2 separate regions of the Homo sapiens genome follow, and region 2 is linked to region 1. The links are contacts of gene promoters, found by promoter capture Hi-C in human tissues and cell types (Jung and others, 2019). All regions are on one chromosome and are shown on one strand. The core of a region is centred on a gene start or on the middle of the fragment in contact, and the rest is flanking DNA. Distances in the headings are between cores, read along the strand shown. Region 1 holds the start of PPP1R14D (protein phosphatase 1 regulatory inhibitor subunit 14D). Region 2 overlaps DNAJC17 (DnaJ heat shock protein family (Hsp40) member C17).

What was found. The method cuts DNA at HindIII sites, captures the fragments that hold promoters and counts their contacts. A contact is called where the count stands out against the background at its distance.
Region 2: a contact is called between a fragment that was not itself captured here and the fragment with the promoter of PPP1R14D in region 1, in 2 of the 25 tissues and cell types used here (IMR-90 fibroblasts and aorta).

What each region holds. Positions count from the first base shown.
Region 1 is chr15:40,826,826-40,830,440 of GRCh38, reverse strand. It overlaps PPP1R14D (protein phosphatase 1 regulatory inhibitor subunit 14D), which reads left to right and starts at 1,733. Exons shown (of 4, transcript NM_017726.8): 1 at 1,733-2,054. The coding sequence starts at 1,800. The HindIII fragment of the contact is 14,686 bases long and covers 1-3,615 here.
Region 2 is chr15:40,775,220-40,778,834 of GRCh38, reverse strand. DNAJC17 (DnaJ heat shock protein family (Hsp40) member C17) reads left to right here. Exons shown (of 11, transcript NM_018163.3): 5 at 2,208-2,293; 6 at 2,543-2,639; 7 at 3,239-3,282. Among named protein-coding and RNA genes, the nearest start is that of C15orf62, 7.0 kb to the right of the region's middle. The HindIII fragment of the contact is 3,866 bases long and covers 1-3,512 here.

The DNA.
Region 1 (3,615 bases), core at 484-2,983:
GAGACGGGGTCTTGCTCTGTCACCCAGGCTGGAGTGCAGTGGCATGATCTCGGCTCACTGCAACCTCCGCCTCCTGGGCCCAGGCGATTCTCCTCCCTCAGCCTCCTGAATAGTTGGGGCTACAGACGTGTGCCACCACGCCCGGCTAATTTTTGTATTTTTAGTAGAGACAGGGTTTTGCCATGTTGGCCAGGCTGATCTCAAACTCCTGACCTCAAGTCATCTGTCCACCTCAGCCTCCCAAAGTGCTGGGATTACAGGCATGAGCCACCGTGCCTGGCCCATTGTTTACATTTTTTAATGGAGACAAGATCTCACTGTGTTGCCCGGACTGGTCTTGAACTACTGGCCTCAAGCAATCTTCCCGCCTGGGTCTCCCAAAGCAGCTAATTTTTTGTATTATTATTATTTTTTTTTTTGGTAGAGAGAGAATTTCACCATTTTGCCCAGGCTGGTCTTGAACTCCTGAGCTCAAGCAATCCACGCGCCTCGGCCTCCCAGAGTGCTGGGATTACAGGCGTGAGCCACCATGCCTGGCCCCATTTTAAAAAAATTACAGGCTGGGCACGGTGGCTCACTCCAGTAATCCCACCACTTTGGGAGGCCGAGGCGGGTGGATCATGAGGTCAGGCATTTGAGACCAGCCTGGGCAACATAGTGAAACCTCGTCTCTACTAAAAATACAAAAAATTATCCGGGCATGGTGGTGGGCGCCTGTAATCCCAGCTTCTTGGGAGGCTGAGGCAGGAGAATTGCTTGAACTTGGGAGGCGGATGTTGCAGTGAGCCAAGATCGCAGCATTGCCCCCCAGCCTGGGTGACAGTGCGAGACTCCATCTCAAAAAAAAAAAAAAAAAAATTACAGTGTTCTTCTGTCACTTTTTTTTTTTAAAGTTTAGAAATTTTCATTATAAAAGACTAAACAAAAATACCCTGCCTTAGAATGCAAGTATGTATGCCTGGAAGTATTAGTCCCTGACACCTGTGTATAAGTTAGGTTTGCAGGTTTCCTCTGTGTCAGCAAATACATGAATCGGGGGAGGGTCACGTGGTAATAAACATGGCTTCCTAAGCAGTTGCCTCAGGGGAGCGGGCATAGTAGACAAGTCTTGATAAATTTGCCTTTACAAGCAGGTAAACTGCCTTTATAGGCCAGGCTGATAGCAGTTTACATTCGGACACACCCAGACACTGGGGGCACTGGTCCTACGGGAGCCATCAATAACTGACCTCCAACTCTATCTACCAGCTGGGGCTCTGCCCCCAGTAGTGCTACGCTCTGAGTAAGAATCCCTGCCAGCCAGGGACCCTGCTTCTGCGGAATCTGACCACAGCTTCTCAGAGCCCAGAGTGGATCCAGCCCCAGGAAGGTGGGATACAGAGGGATCTCAGGTGAGAACGACTCAGGTCCCATTCCAGAGCTGGCCATAGAGCAGCGATTGGAGCCCTGTACCCTTCAGGACCCCAGGGCCCCTTCCTCCTCCCTGGGCATGGCAGCCTCTTGACCTTTGCTCATCTGCAGTTTATGCCACTTTGGGCCCTAGAAGCTGCAGAAAGGGAGGCTGGGGCATGGCTCTGGAGTGCCACTCACTGGCTGGCAGTGAGGAGCCAGGAGACTGGCATTCCCAGCACCAAAGTCCTATTGATCTTTGCCCTTGCCCCTCCCTGGGAGCCTTGGCCCTCCTCCTGCCTTCATTTCTTCTCTGCTGGCCTCTCCTGTTCTCTGTCTCCTCACTTCCCTCTGTGGCTCTGCTCAGAACTGGCGGTTTTTCCCAGCTCCTTGCCCAGACCAATACTTCCATGCTGTCTTCAAGCCCTGCTTCCTGCACATCTCCCAGCCCAGATGGGGAGAACCCATGTAAGAAGGTCCACTGGGCTTCTGGGAGGAGAAGGACATCATCCACAGACTCAGAGTCCAAGTCCCACCCGGACTCCTCCAAGATACCCAGGTCCCGGAGACCCAGCCGCCTGACAGTGAAGTATGACCGGGGCCAGCTCCAGCGCTGGCTGGAGATGGAGCAATGGGTGGATGCTCAAGTTCAGGAGCTCTTCCAGGTAGGTAGCACAGCGGATAGTGGGAGGAGATGGGGGCCTGGGGTCCACCCAGGGCACTGAGACCTTCACAGGAGCTGGAGGGCTGATGTGAGGTGCTTCCGTGAAGAGAAAGCTTTTGTAACTGATGAAAGAAAGAAGCATCGGTTTGAAGTCCAGAAGTCTGCCTCCCTCTAGGCTTGTCTGTGCCTCTAATGCTCTTTGTGATCTGGGGAAGGTCTTTTAACATCCCTAATCTATAATAGGGCTGTTAGTGCCTGTCATATCTCCTTTATAGGACTTTCTGAGGCTCAAATGAGACAATAGAAGGGAAAATGCTTGGTCACACTATGTTTCAAAATTTTATATCTTTATTTACTCCCATGTTCAATGCACATACATGTCCGGAGCTACATTTTCGTTTCTTTTCTTTTTCTTTGTTTCTTTCTTTCTTTCTTTCTTTTGTTTTTTGTTTGTTTGTTTGTTTTTGAGACAAAGTCTTGCCCTGTTGCACAGGCTGGAATGCAGTAGTGCAATCTCAGCTCACTGCTCTGCCTGCTGGGTTCAAGCCATCCTCCCACTTCAGCCTCCTGAGTAGCTGGGACTACAGGTGCGCACCACCACGCCTGGCAAATTTTTTTGTATTTTTTTTTGTAGAGACGGCTTTTCACCATGTTGCCCAGGCTGGTCTTGAACTCCTTGGCTCAAACAGTCTGCCTGCCTCGGCCTCTCAAAGTGCTGGGATTACAGGTGTGCACCACCATGCCCAGCCTAGAGCTACATTTTCCAATTCTGTAGCCATCAGCCATGTGTAGCTGTTTGACTTTAAATGAGTTATAATTAAATAAAATTATTCAGTTCCCCAGTCACATGGGCCACATTTCTTTTTTCTTTTGCCTTTTTTTGAGACAGTCTTACTCTGTAAACCAGCCTGGAGTGCAATGCCGTGATTTTGGCTCACTGCAACCTCCGCCTCCCAAGTTCAAGCGATTCTCCTGCCTCAGCCTCCCGAGTAGCTGGGATTACAGGCATGCGCCACTGTGCCCGACTAATTTTGTATTTTTAGTAGAGACGGGGTTTCTCCATGTTGGTCAGGCTGGTCTCGAACTCTCGACCTCAGGTGATCTGCCCACCTCAGCCTCCCAAAGTGCTGGGATTACAGGCGTGAGCCACCGCACCCAGCCAACATGGGCCACATCTCAAGTGTTAAATAGCCCCATGTGGCTAGTGACTACTATGTTGTCAGCACAAATATAGAATATTTTCGTTATTTCAGAATGGACAGTGCGGGACTAGAATGTTAAGAGTAACCAAAGTTGAGTGCCAATACCAGGACCTAAGCAATCTTTGACCCTGGCTCTGACTAACACTCTTCAACCCCACTCTGGGAAAAGGACAGGTCTTGGTCCCTGGTTACTGGAAACGGCACTTTCTTACTTATATACCTTTAAACCTGGATTCTAGAGAGGTAAGAACTGCTGTTCCAGCAATAAGAATAACATTCTGAACACAACTACGTGCTAGGCTCAATGCCAGGCACTGACATGCATTCTTTCATTTAATCCTTCCCACAACTCCATTAAGC
Region 2 (3,615 bases), core at 330-2,829, 51 kb after region 1:
AGCCTCACGATAGTGGGACTACAGGCATGCACCACTACGCCCGGCTAATTTTGTTCCGTTTTTTTAGAGATGGAGTTTCACCATGTTGGCCAGGCTGGTCTTAAACTCCTGGCCTCAAGCTATCCACCTCAGTCTCCCAAAGTGCTGGTATTACAGCTGGTGAGCTGCCGCACCTGGCCTCTGAAGCCATTTTTTATAGGCAAAGGAGCTAAGGCACCAAAAGTTTAAGAGCTTGCTGGAGGTGGGATTTAAACTTATCCAGTGTGAGTAAAATTGGTGCTTGTGGCCGGGCGCGGTGGCTCACGCCTGTAATCCCAGCACTTTGGGAGGCCGAGGCGGGTGGATCACGACGTCAGGAGTTCGAGACCAGCCTGGCCAAGATGGTGAAACCCCTTCTCTACTAAAAATACAAAAATTAGCTGGGTGTGGTGGCGGGTGCCTGTAATCCCAACTACTCGAGAAGTTGAGGCAGAGAATTGCTTGAACCCGGGAGGCAGAGGTTGCAGTGAGCTGAGATCACGCTGCTGTGCTCTAGCCTGGGTGACAGAGCAAAACTCCATCTCAAAAAACAAAACAAAACAAAAAAATTGGTGCTTGTATTCACCATTTCTGGCTGAGTCTTCTTCTTCTTTTTTTTTTTTTTAAAGAAAGACGGGGTTTTGTACTGTCACCCAGGCTAGGGTGGCACCATCATGGCTCACTGCAGCCTCAAACTCCTGGGCTCAAGCAGTCCTTCTGCCTTGGCCTCCTGAGTAGCTGGGACTACAGGTGCGAGCCGCTGTGCCCGGCTGGGTCTTTTAATTTGTTCTAACCCCAATTCCTACCCAGACTTTTCACTTTGAGAAGCTCCCTCAGAAGGATTCAAAGAGGTCCAGGCTTTCTCTTCTCTAATAGCTTTATTGAGGTATTCTTTGTATATCACAACATCAACCCATTTCAAGTGTACACTTCAATGATTTTTCGTAAATTTACTAAATGATGCAACTCTGACTATAAATCAGATTTGGAACATTTTCATCAACCCAATAAGATTGCTGCAAGCATTTTTTTTTTCTCACTTAAAAAAAAGTCACTGGTTATAGCAGCATGGTCCAAGCACTCTTTTTTTTTTTTTCTTAAACGGAGTTTCGCTCTTGTTGCCCAGGCTGGAGTGCAGTGGCACGATCTCGGCTCACTTCAACCTCTGCCTCCTGGGTTCAAGCGATTCTCCTGCCTCAGCCTCCCGAGTAGCTGGGACTAAGTTGCGCACCACCACACCCGGCTAATTTTTGTATTTTTAGTAGAGACGGAGTTTTGCCACATTGGCCAGGCTGGTCTCGAACTCCTGACCTCAGGTGATCCACCCCTCTTGGCCTCCCAAAGTGCTGGGATTACAGGCGTGAGCCACCGCGCCTGGCCCAGTCCAAGCATTCTTTACTCAAGTTTCTCCTTTTCCTCTTGCTCTTCAACATCCATATATTTTAATATGTGCATATAGCATCCCAATATCTATTTCTATATTAAAAGAAAAGCAAGTGCCAGGAGACCCCATCTCAAAAAAAAAAAAAAAAAAAGAGAGAGAGAGAAAAGGAGAGTCTAAGTAAGTAAAGTGCACAAACTTCTCTGGACTAAGAGAAGGGTTTCTCACAGCAGCTGGCCTGGCACATGGTTGCAAGCAGGTTTCTCTTGGAAGGTAACGCCCTCACACAATCCAGGACCCGGGGTGATGCCCTAACACTCTGCCCATCCCTGTAGCCAGGTCCACAGTGAGGCTTGGTAAATGTGAGTTGAGGTGGGAGGTAAAGGAGACAGTGAGAACCTGAGCTCAGTGTGTGAAAAGAATCAAAGCCAAAGCAAGTCAAGCTGTGGTGCCAAACCACAGGAATCGAGCCCAGCAGCTCCGCCCATTGGCACCCCTGACACATGGCCCTGGGCTGCTGACATAAGCACCACCCACACCCTGTTCACTAGAGAGAACCAGCTTGGTCAGTGTGAGCTGTTTTTAACTCTTCCAGACCCCTGGCCACTCTGCTAGACCCCATACTTCTGTGCTGTGATTTTTCTCAATGGAAATTGACTCGGGGGCGTGGGCATGGAGGGAGGGGGCAGAGTTACTGTATGATCTCGTCGTGATTGAGACTTTGGGGAGGCAGCCAGAGCTGGGGTGGGCCGAGGCCACATGGAAACTGAACAGACCAGCAGTCTGGTCATTCAACCCTTGTGTCTAGACCTGGAGGCCCGGGAGCGGCAGGCCCAGGCCCAGGAGAGTGAGGAGGAAGAGGAGAGCCGGAGCACCAGGACACTAGAGCAAGAGGTGAGCACTCAGGCACACTGGCCAGAAGGCCACCTGCAGGAGGAGGAGGTGGGGGAGGATGGACCTGGTGGTCGCCGTGGCTAGAGAGGGCATGCTCTTTGCACCTTCAGTGGGAGCTGGGTGATTTGTCCCACCCACAGGTTGCTGAGCCCTAGCTTGCAGGTGGAAGCTCCCAAGGACTTTTTACAAGGTGAGCCAGCCTGGAATTGGACCTGCACAGAATTGTCACCCCCACCCCCTGCTCTGCAGATCGAACGCCTGAGAGAAGAGGGTTCCCGGCAGCTGGAGGAACAGCAGAGGCTCATCCGGGAGCAGATACGCCAGGAGCGTGACCAGAGGTTGAGAGGTGCAGGTCTATCACCCCGCCTATCTCCCCTCCAAGGTAGCTCCAGATTGCTCAGAGCGGCCACACTGGCTGTTCGGTGGAGCTGCTGTGGAGGCTTCTACCTGCTGGAACCCTGGGGTCACCCTATGGTACCTTACTCTGACACATGCCACTTATCCCGTCTTCCTCCCAGTTCTCTGGGGCCTATTTGCTTTTTACTCTGCCTGAGATCTCCTGGCCACATTTGGCTTTGTCCCAAGCAGAGGTGGCCTTGTTTTGGGACAGATCACCACGGGGAGGGGCCCTGGGACACTTTGTGCCCGTAGAACCTCATGGTCTGTCTCTCTGCCTCCTGTCCCTAGAAAGTGTTCCTAGCTCTCCATTCAGAGAGTGCTGACAAGTGGCCTTCAGGAGGCAGCTGGGTAGACCACCCCTGGGGTGGCAGCTTCTCTGGGGATGGGCATCTGCTTTCCCCACCAGGCCCTCACCAGAGCTGGGCAGGCATTGCCCTTGGTCAGGAGTGACCCTTTCCAGACCCTTCTTGCTCTGGGCTGCATTTCCTTTGGGAGAATCTCTGACTCCCTCATATTCTACTTTTCTTCTTTTCCCAATATTTCTAGGAAAGGCAGAAAATACTGAAGGCCAAGGAACCCCCAAACTAAAGGTGAGCCTGGGCAGGATCTGTGGGCCACCTCACACTCACACCGCCTCCCCTCAGCAGGAATAGATGCTTCCTGTGGCTCGAGGGTTTCTGGTGGGGCTGCTGGATCTGCGTGGAGCCCGCACCATTACCACCTCCCTCCATGCTCCAGCCGCCCGGAGATCAGAGCTTGCCACGAAAGGCTGCTTTTAGCCCTGATCACAGGGCAGAGGATTCTCTAGAAGCCCTCTCAGGAGAGGGTCTTCTGGGCGGGAAGCGTCCCTGGGGTGAGCAGGCCATCCTGCCTTCAAGTTCCCAAGGGGAAAATGTTTCTGGTGGCACTCCCCAGATTGCAGG